3 separate regions of the Homo sapiens genome follow, and regions 1 and 2 are each linked to region 3. Evidence: promoter capture Hi-C in human tissues and cell types (Jung and others, 2019). All regions are on one chromosome and are shown on one strand. Each heading gives the region's core, a stretch centred on a gene start or on the middle of the fragment in contact. The rest is flanking DNA. Distances are from core to core; before and after follow the strand shown. Region 1 overlaps NFIB-AS1 (NFIB antisense RNA 1). Region 2 holds the start of NFIB-AS1 (NFIB antisense RNA 1). Region 3 holds the start of ZDHHC21 (zDHHC palmitoyltransferase 21).

What was found. Contacts are between HindIII fragments. The study calls those that stand out against the background at their distance.
Region 1: a fragment that was not itself captured here is called in contact with the fragment with the promoter of ZDHHC21 in region 3 in 1 of the 25 tissues and cell types used here (dorsolateral prefrontal cortex).
Region 2: a contact is called between a fragment that was not itself captured here and the fragment with the promoter of ZDHHC21 in region 3, in 1 of the 25 tissues and cell types used here (dorsolateral prefrontal cortex).

The regions. Positions count from the first base shown.
Region 1 is chr9:14,336,977-14,340,893 of GRCh38, forward strand. All of the region lies in intron 1 of NFIB-AS1 (NFIB antisense RNA 1), which reads left to right. It also overlaps a transcript of NFIB not described here. Among named protein-coding and RNA genes, the nearest start is that of NFIB-AS1, 22 kb to the left of the region's middle. The HindIII fragment of the contact is 5,546 bases long and covers 1-3,917 here.
Region 2 is chr9:14,316,323-14,319,670 of GRCh38, forward strand. NFIB-AS1 (NFIB antisense RNA 1) reads left to right here and starts at 765. Exons shown (of 2, transcript NR_186536.1): 1 at 765-1,023. It also overlaps a transcript of NFIB not described here. The HindIII fragment of the contact is 6,213 bases long and covers 1-3,348 here.
Region 3 is chr9:14,692,182-14,695,772 of GRCh38, forward strand. It overlaps ZDHHC21 (zDHHC palmitoyltransferase 21), which reads right to left and starts at 1,251. Exons shown (of 10, transcript NM_178566.6): 1 at 1,048-1,251. RefSeq lists silencers at 893-1,032, 1,113-1,182 and an enhancer at 1,256-1,756. The HindIII fragment of the contact is 8,706 bases long and covers 1-3,591 here.

The DNA of each region.
Region 1 (3,917 bases), core at 8-2,507, 360 kb before region 3:
TATGGATACTGAAATTTGAATTTCATAAAACTTTTCCATGTCATGGGATATTATTCTTCTTTGTTTTTGTTCTTCCAACCATTTCAGAATGTAAAAACCATTCGTAGCTCTCAACCCATATAAGAGCAGTTAACAGGTTCTATTTGGCTTGTGGGTGATAGTTTTCTGGCTGCTACCCTAGGGAGACTCCTGCACATGTGCAGAAGGTAACATATACAAGAAGTTCTCAGTAGAATAGTCCATAAATGCTCCAGAGGAGAAACAAGCAAAAGTTCCCTCAACCACAGAATGGATAAATGCATTGTATTATTTATATACAACACACGGTTGAAAGAAAGAAGCAAGTCATAAAAGGATACATGCAGTATGATTTTATTTATGTAAAGTTCAAAAACAGGCATACAAAAGTGCTGAAATCAAAATAAAAAAGTAAAAGCAAGGAAATGATGGTGAGAAAAATCATAATAATGGTTACCTCTCAGGAGAGGGAGGTGATGGGGTGCGGACCTGGCAATGTTATATTTCTTGACTTGGGGTCATTATTGCATTGGTGTTTACTCTATATTCTTTGAATTAGACATTTTATGTGTATACTCGGAAGTGCACATCTCCTCACTTTAAAATTTCAGTTCTCATTTTCTAACCCTGAGTTGGCATTTGGAGCCCCACTGGGGTGGCGGGGGACACATGCCCAGGCCACACGTTTCCAACTTCCTAAAGCTCCTTTGATGTCATTTTGAAGACCTTTGGCATCCATCTGGCCTCGGGCTCCACACTTCCCAAGAAGAGTCTTGGCTTTTATACATTCAGCTGTTTTTCTTTTCAGTTTACTTTTGTTTCAGACACTGATGCTGTCTGCCAAATTCCCTCAAGGTCAAATCCATATTATTATGGGTTCCATTGTCTTGAAACCTTTCTGCTTATGAATTCTATGTTTTGTAATTTCAAGATGTAATTGTAAATAATTCAATTACATTAGACTGGGCAGTAAATGCATGTACTGGCCACTTTCCCTTTGTCCCTCTGTTCCTCGGTGTTGATTCTTTTCTTAATATTTTTACCTTCTGGCTCTCTATGTGTAGCTGTATGTTGCCATTAACTCAGGCAGGGCTAAATTGAAAGAAAAGAAAATACGTAGCCGGGCGCAGTGGCTCACGCCTGTAATCCCAGCACTTTGGGAGGCCGAGGCAGGCGGATCACAAGGTCAGAAGATCGAGACCATCCTGTCTAACACGGTGAAACCCCATCTCTACTAAAAATACAAAAAATTAGCCGGGCATGGTGGCGGGCGCTTGTAGTCTCAACTACTCGGGAGGCTGAGGCAGGAGAATGGCGTGAACCCGGGAGGCGGAGGTTGCAGTGAGCAGAGATCGCGCCACTGCACTCCAGCCTGGGTGACAGAGCGAGACTCTGTCTCAAAAAAAAAAAAGAAAAGAAAAGAAAAGAAAATATGTATTTGCGGTTGGAAAGGAAATGAGCTTAGGAGTAGAACAACTGGAGTTTGAACCTCTTTGCAATCTATCAGCTGTGTGTTCATAGCTAGTGACCTAACATCTGAGCTTCCCTTTATTTTATCTACAGAAGTGAAGGCTAATAATGAATACTGGAGAGAGTCATTGTGGGAAGTAGATCAGCAAAGATTAAACCAGAAAACATGTGAAATATACCTAGCTCATCACCTCAGCTACCGTGTGACTTGTGGTAGACACACAGTAATACATTAGGGTTTTCTCTTCTTTTCTTCTTTTCTTCCTTCCTTTCTTCCCTCCTTCCCTCATTCTTGTTTCTTTCTCTTTCCTTTATGTTATTACTTTTTTCCTTCATCCATCCATCTATCTATCCATCTCCCTCTCCTCCTTTCTCCTGCCCCTCCTTCCCCCCTTGGATCCCCCTCCCTTCTTTCCTTTCTTTCTGAACCTTTGCGATAGTTTTCCGTCTACTGTCACCAATCACGTTAACCCAGCAATTGCCTAAATAGAGAAAAGATGGTAGGCAGGTTGGGGACAGGAAAAATCAAAGATGGAAACATTCTGCTCATGAGCCTGGGAAAAGAGGACACACCATATTCTCCACTTTACTTGGCCATCCCATTTTAAACTTCTTGTTTCCCCTGAAACTCACAGGTTTGTTCAAATCTAGAAATTGCAGATCTGTAGCAAGTATCCTGTCAGAAAATGTAAAAAGCCTAGAAGAACTGAATCATGATTTTAGGGACAAAAATTGCTTTCACGTAAATCACTTGGAACCCTGTCTGACCTATTGTAAGCACTCAAAAATGTTGGCTATTATTACTATTATTGTTGTTGCTGTGATTATTATTGTTGTTCAGGACAACATCCCAGTATGTGCAACGGAAGTTGTAAGACTATTAGCTGCCTCGTTTGCTAAACGCACACCCAGGTTACAAAGAATGGCGATTCTTTGATAAAAGAATGGCTGATTCTTTGATCATTTCCCAATTTCCCCCGTTGTTTCCCCCTTAAACATTTCATTCTGCCTTTTCCAGAACAAACATCATTATAATCACTTCTTGTTCACATCTCTGATATCCCCATGGCTCTTGCTGCTCTCACTGGTAGTAGCAACACCTCTAAATTTACTACCATCTGCAAATATCATTAGCTATTGTTTATTCCCTCTCCCACACTATTAATGAAGATGTTAATTAAGACCAGAACTAACACTGACCCCAGCAGCAATCCACTAGACATTTATCCAACTGGATAAACTTCTGTTAGTCATTACCCACTGCTCATAGACATTACCACTACTCCATTCTCTTCATCTGCTAATTTGTAAGAGACTAGGGGAGAGAATTAAGGGAGCCCAGGATTATTTAAAAATTAACACCCTGATACTTGGGGTTTTGGAAAGGGATTTGGTAAAACATCAGAAAGACAGTCGTCAGTGGCATGCAGGAGTAAGTGAGCCAGCCTCCCAAAGTATTTGGTAATTGCCTGGCTAAGCTTATGGGTTTCTAAGAATTTAGGAATGCACCGTAAGGCTGGAGTATATAGAGTTTTCAGTCCAGCCACTTCTTCTTACAGATGACCAGACTGAGGCCCAAAGAGGTCAAGTGAGTTGTCCAAAGTTCACCTTTCTAGTTAGTGACAGAACCTGAATTGTAAAGTGGGGCTCTAACTTTCAGTCCTGTGCTGTTTGTAAGAACTTAGAAGCACTCAATCTTGCTTCTAGAGGTTCTGATCTGCGCATTAGCATTTTCCTACCACATTTTAACTTAAGGAGCCCAGTGCCTACCGACTTCATCTTTGTGTCTTCAGCAAACTGTCTCCAATAATAGGAGTTCATTGCATACTTAGTAAAAGAATGGGCGTTCTTCACCAAGAGGCACTATTCTCTTAAACTATAAATTAGAGTTCTCAACCCTAGCTAAACATTAGAATCGCCCAGGGGAACTTGTAAAAAAGAATACCGATGCCCACACCACACTCGTAGCAATTCTAATTTAATTGGATTGAGGAGAAGCCCAGGCACTGGTAACTTTTTAAAGCTCCCCAGATGATTCTAATGTGCAGTGGGGTTGGGAGCCAACTCAGAGGATAAAATGTTTTTCCAAAGACTCCTAAACTGAGAAGTTTCTTGTTCTATAGAAGGGGTTCATACAGAATGGCTGTAACTTAGCAAGTAGAAGCAAACTTTTCTCTCGAACAGGAAACTGGCTGCTCTTCAAACCTTTTCGTTGTGCAGAATGTGAATTACATTGCCAGCTCAGAATGATGTGGTTTGGAATCTATTAATCTGGTGGTGGTATTTATGCCTGGCATTTTTTCCAAACTTAACTTTTGCTCTGTAGGCAGTTGTGCCAACTTAAGAGTAGGGCTACCTCTCAGGTGGTCCGGAAATGAGTTACTGACTTAGTATAAAAACTGGCCTACTAGAAGTAAAGTCATGGAAAG
Region 2 (3,348 bases), core at 695-3,194, 380 kb before region 3:
AGCCCAAAGAAGAAAGGCGCTGGGGGGTGGGGAGTTCGGGAGGCCGGGGACGGGGGCTGCTGGGACTAGGAAGACAGGTAAAGTCGGGGAGATCGCGCGGACCCCTGCGAGTTAACCCTTTCGGCCACACGCCCTGGGAGCGGCCTCCCTGCGGTCCCCGCCCCTGCCCCGGCAAATCCTGGAGTCAGCGTTCTGACAACGTTAATTTCCTTTGTGCGGGTCATTTCTTCTTTTTGAAAAGCTGGGATAAAGTTGGCAGTCTTTATGGATGAAAGAAATGAGGTGACAGGGTTAATCCAAGTAAATACTCATTTCTCTCAGAAATTTTAGGCAACCTCATCTTAGATTAAACACACACAGACACACACACACAGAGAAACCACCAGCACGAAAGCATCACTTTGTATTGCACATTACACTGCATCCCCTTTCTCACCCTCACCAGATTCTGAGGGGAGGGGGTGGGGAAGCTCTACTGATAATACCAGCTTTAACTACTGCAGTTTCCCTTTGAACAAATATTCAATTTAACTGGAGTTAATTTACCATAAAAGACATTCCCCTTGGCAGGAATGCACTAATATCCTTGAACACACCTCTTTGAATGCCTGGACTCTCATAGAAGCCATTATTTCGGGGTCTCTTTAAAAATCGAGCGCCCATCTCTCCTTCTCTCCCTCCCTCCCTTCTTCCCTCCCTCCTCACCACACCACCCCCAGTGAAATCCTGGCACCCAGAGAGCACTCCTTTCAGCCTGAGAGCCCAGAACCAGCCGTTGTCCCCTGGCAAAAAGAGGCCCAGGGCTGAGCCCTGGGCAAGTGTCTCCCGACATCGCTACCCCTCCTCCCTTTATTAGTTTCCCTTTCCCAACAGAAACCATTTCCTTCTGCCACCAAAACTAGGTTGCATCCAAAAGTTTTTCACAAGCTTAAAAAAGAAAAACGAAAAATTGACAAGTATTACACAGAAGAGCCCACAAAAGCTTCAGCAACACCAAGGGCGAAGAAGCAGCGTCAGATCCAGGTAAGACCCCAGAGAAGTGAAGACGTCTGGGGCCTCCCAGGCCCATCACTTAGGGGTTCAAATCTCTTTCAATTGCCCCACGTTTGAGGGTGCTTATGGCTGGTTGCACTTTGATGACCATAGAGGATGCTTGATAGTTTTTGGTTTTGATTTGTTTCCCAGAAAAAGGAAAATGAGATAGGAGTATGGTGAGGCGAGGAAAACCAAAAAGGAATGAAGAGTGAGCAACAGAGACTTCCTGAAAAAGAAGGTTTATGGGGGTGCTCAGTTTCTATGGCTTTGACTGTCTTCTCAGGCCTTGCAGCCATGTGGAGAATGGCTGACACCCCCCAAAACACTTCTTCTTGTCCAGCCAATGCCAAGGTCATTGCAGGCCTTCCCTGGAAGAACTCTAGGGAGTTGTTTGGAAAGAGGGACTGGTGGATTTCGGTGCATGGGATGCCTGGCTTCTCTTAACACAACACTTGTCCACCACCTTTGGTTTGAAAATCTCAATCTTTTAAATCCCAGGTAGAAGGAGGAACTGAGAAAGTGCCTGCATTGTATTCACTTTCCATTTTTTCTAGCACGTCTGTGTCGTGGTATTAAGAGTGGAAATATCTCTGAAAAGCTTCTGATAGTATCAAAATGGGCCAAACACTTCTTAAACTTTGGTACTTACCAATCCTAAACTCTTCATCTCTCCCTCCCACACTGAGAGGGTTAAAAGCACTGGTGTGACAGGCCACTTTCATTCACCCCAAAACCTGGCTGAGGAGGCAGAAAGAAGTGAATGATTCTCTCAGCAACAGGAAACTCTGTTATTTCAGTATTCTTAAAGATCTCCTCCCTAGATCTCCTTGCTGCCTTATAAGGGAAAAAAAAAAGTTTCCTTTCTAACTAACAGAAAGTTTATTGATTTCTAAATAGAATGCCAGTGCTTCAGCTCACTGGATTTTTCAAAACCCAGTTGTATATTTGAAATAAGCAACGCTACCACATTTGAGCCTTTCACTACGGATCTCCAGAGAGGAGCTTGACATCTCAAGTATCTAATATTGTTTTTCTTTTAACCTTTTCCTTCCTAAAGAAATTGCAGCGACAGGTTGCAAATCCTGGGCAGTTTCATGAAAGATTTCTTGGAACTTAACAAAGCTGTCATTTCCAATACACTCGATGCCTTTTTTTTTTTTTTTTTTTTTTTTTGGCTCTTGCATGTGGTTTGCAAGAAGGTTCAACTATTCTACACACCCTGGCTGCATCACCAATATCAATATTTAAAAACTAAATGCAAAAGAGACAGATGACCTCCTGACCCCAGAAAGCAGGCCTGCAAAACTGCAAGTATCTACTGCACCATGCCCTGGGATCTTTCCTTTTTCCAAATGAACCACAAAAATCATACATGTGTAGTCTGGAAAACACAAATTTATATCCACAAGGAGGAACACCAAAAATCCACTCATAAATGCATATATAAACAATCAAGAAGTATTGAAAGTGCCTGTACTTGATGAGAATTGCAAAATCAATTTTACCAGCTCAGGTAATCAAATTACCCAGCTCTTAAACTACTACTGAGTACTACTACTACTGTCTACTACTCTTAAACAAAAAACAAAATCATACCCAGCCCTTAACGTACTACTGTCAAATTAGGGTAGTAATTTTTTCCCCACCAGAGAATTCACAACTGGTTAGTTTCCCCACCCCCATTGCTAGCCCTTTGCACTGAAATGAATAAATAACCTTGGACCTTTTTCTCCTCCTCTGGGAGCTATTTGGTGTCCCCTGAGGACAAAAGTAAATGAGAAAAATGACGCTGTTAATAATGTCACTGCCGAAATGCCTCTACTCCACTGTTTAAAAAAAAAAAAAAAGCATCCCACTAAGTGTGTCTACATTTCTAGCATATTTACAAGTTATAATACAGTTCTGATCTCAACACCAACTGAGCCAGATTCCTCCACTAAGGTTATCCGGTTTTCACTTCTCAACAGAGATGAGGCCAGTGCATCAACAGAGATTCCCAACACTGTAAGACACTTGCTTCACAGATTACAAAGTCAGCAGTTGCCCTGTAACTTTTGCATGATGTATTTTAAACTTTGAAAATAGAGGTAATAGTTGCCTCACTTATCCACAATGTTACAAAGGTTCCATATACTCTCTCACACAGTGTCTCTTGTCTGCTGATATTGAGAGAGTTGCAGTTATTGCTCTTTTTCAAAATAGCTGACCTATAAAGTAAAACTATATGACCATTTTATTTCTACAGGTAAACTGGCTTCTATTACCCATATACACATGCCTTGTAACATAGGAAAACAGATGGGTTTTTAAGAC
Region 3 (3,591 bases), core at 1-2,500:
AATCTAAAGAGTTGGAAGAATTTAATATTACACCAAAAGCCTTTTAATCCAGGAATGGCGCATACTAAGCAGTCATCAAATGGTGACTGTTATTAATATTATTCTTACCACAAGGAAAGCAGTGAATTTTTAAAAGTGCATATATTAGCATAGTAGGCTGAGGACCTATTTAACACATCTTTTTAAATTGCACTTAATTATCCTTAGTCGCCTTTGGACTGTAACTTTACAATATAATTTATGACCCGCCCACAATGACCTTGATTTTTTTTTCTCTTCTACTTTTAGAGACTGCTATATTGCAATATTTTAAAGTAATAATTGGTCATGTCCTCTCAGCCCTGGTGATACAGACATCCACCCTGACTCTCAAGGGATCTTAAAATGTGACCCACATATAGCTTGAAAAAGACCGTAACTTAAATGGACTCTGCAGTTACAATCCAGCGACCTGTTACAGTGAACAGTAACAAGTGCAAACTGCTGCCATCCATAAGCCATTTTCCGAAAACCTCTTTGGATCAAGAGGAGAGGAGTGAGAAGGTCAATAAAGGAGCAAACTGTTTGTCCTCTCTGCAGCTTCACACCAGAAGTCTGGAATGAATGAAAAGCTCTGGAATAGCACAGAGAAACCCGGGATCCCAGTGCAGGTCTCCAGACGGGGGTGCGGGGAGAGAAACTGTAGTTTACAAGCGAGAAACTCAGGATACAGATTTAAAATAAATAAATAAATAACTAGCCAACATCGTCTCGACTAGAGCAGGAACCCCCCACCCCCAGTTGAGGGAGGAGCACTTAGCAAGGGGCTGTAGCTCTAGCAGAAGACGCTCTGAAAAAGGCCAGGCCTGGGGCGGGGAGGCACCGAGAAACCCCCGGGTTCCAAACAGAGCAGGTGCAGGGGGCGTGCAGGAACAGGTGAGGGCGTCCCGGCGCGGAGGAGCGGCGGGCGGGCCCGGCAGAGCGGAGCGGGGGCCGGGGATGGGGGTGGGGGTGCGGATGGGGATGGGGGTGGGGGCGGCCGCTTCGCCCCCGCGCCTGCACACTCACCGTCGCCGCTGGCTCGCCTCTCGCTGCCGCCGCTCTCCCGACCGCCAGCAGCTCTTTCCCCTCCTCCTGCCGCGCCACCTCCGCCTCCTCCGGCGCCGCCGCCCAGGCCGGGCCGCTCTCCCCTTCCGCTTCCGGGAGCCTGAGGGCCTGGACCGGCCGAGTGGGTGTCCGCATGCCCGCGCGCCCGCGTGGGGAGGGACGACTGCCGCCGTCGCCGTCTCGCTTAGCTCCCGGGAGCCGCGATGGGAGCCGCTGAGGGCCGAAACTCCTGCAATCGCGCCGCAGCCCCAGAGCCGCGGACCCAGGCAGACCGCACTCTCCAGAGCGCTTGCACCTGGCGCGCCTGGGCGCCTCTGCCCCTCCCCAGCCCTACTTGAGCCGTCCTTCTCATTGTCCCCATATCCTCACTGCTCACCTCTCCCGAGAGACAGGATGGGGGCCTTAGCTTAAAAGATTGCATGTATCCTTTCTTCGGGGGATGTGGCCAGCAGGCCTCTCTCCCCGCAGGTGTTCTGGGATGTCCCATGGTACCTTGCTTCAAAGCGCGGTCTGCAGCATCAGCATCCTCTGGGAACTCACAATCTTTGAAATGCACAATTTCAGGCCTGCTGAATCAGTACATGCACTTCAGCAAGATCACCAGGTGACTCCTGGGGTGCACCGTAAAGATGGAAAAGCATTGCACTGTAGTGCATGGTCTCGTCCACTTCAGACCCTCTATTGGGTTGCCTCAGACATCCCAGGATATTTCCTGTTCCTGTCCTCAACCTAAATCCACACCCAAACAATCTTTTCTTATATTTTGGGAGACCTCCAAAAGTTTCCTGCTTTCCCATCCCTGCAAAAGCCGACAACTTTTGGACTCAGCGATGCAAGTAATCCACCTCTCAGTCTAACTTGGTATCTTCACCAAACACCAGAGATCTACTAACTTTCCCACCTCACTCCGGCTGAACAGTATTTGGGGAAGGTTAAACCGTTTGCAGTAATGTGGAGCTAGATCTTTCTGCCCACGTGCCACAGGAGGAGACAGTGTGTTGGTGGAAGAAATATTACCTGTTGTATAAAATCTGTATTCCTTATAAGATGTGCTTAAAAGCCCTCCACAGACACATCCCTACCTACCTCTCCAGTCTTAGCTCCAACTAATTTGGTTCATTTCCCCATTCTAGAATGCCCTGCTCTCTGATGATCTTAACCCTATCCAGATTTGAGAGTGGAAATCTTGCCAAACCAGAGTTCTCTCACCACTGCCCTTATATAGTGCACATTGTTGCCTGTTTGGGGCCTCATATTACCTTGTATTGCTAAGGATTTTTAAACATGTTGTGTCCTGGTTTCTGAACTAATTATAAACACCTTGTGACCTTAAAAACTTTGGTCAGTGGTTATCAAAGTGGGATCCCTAGACCAGCAGCATCGGTATCACCTGTCAACTTGTGAGAAATCCATATTCTTTTGCCCCATCCCAGATCTACTGTAGTAGAAACTGTTTAGGTGTAGCCCAGCAATCCGTGATGTAACAAGCCTTTTAGGTGATCCTAATACACACTCAAGTTTTAGAATTACTGACCTAGATTACTAGATATTCCCAAAAGAACCCAGTGGTAGGAATTGATTTACCCATAAGCAGATTTTATTGCCTTTCAGGTTAACAAATACACTCCCCGATATATGCATAGCGAGGTTGAAAGACTAGTCACGATTGCTTTTGATAGAATTACCTTTATTTTTCATAAATCATTTGATGTAGTAGGATTTTTGTAACTTTCTCTGTTTGAAAAGAAGGAGATATTTCATATAAACAATCACTTTGAAGGAAGAGGAAATGTGGAATCCTCCCACCGGAATCCAGCTACCTGATTGCGTATTCAATGTGAATCCCTTCTACCCAAATCCAGCTACCTGATTGCATATTAAATGTGGACTCCTCCCTACCCGAATCCAGCTACCAGAATTGCATATTAAATGTAAAATCCCCCCCCCACCCAAATCCAGCTACCCAATTGCATATTAAAAGTAGAATCCCCTCCACCTGAATCCAGCTACATGAATTGCATATTATTTTGCTTTCTCTTCAGATACCCCTGTGAGAGGGAATAATTTGTGACAAGTGATCTCAAAACTGCCAAAATAAGAATTAGTTGACAGGTCCATGATTGCACATGACAATTGGAAGTGCATGGATTTTTCAGTCCCTTTTTAAAATAAGTTAGCCTGTCTTTTATCAGCCAAATCAATTCCACAGAGAATTTTTAAGCAAGGGAATAGGAGAGAAGAGGCAGGAGAAACATCCTTAAAAACATGAACCTTTTTAGCATGGGCATTTCATGAGTATAATCAAAGGCCTGCCTATCCCTTACACTGAAGGTCAAGTCATCTGGTTCTATCATTCATGCTAATCATTGGTTATATTGTATTGCAACCCATACATTCAGGCACCTGGGTAACAATAAGGGGGTGAGGGAGATGTGGCATCAGGTAATCTTTTGAAAAGATTTTCTATTTACTGGGTATATTATGGAAAGACGATATAGATCGTAC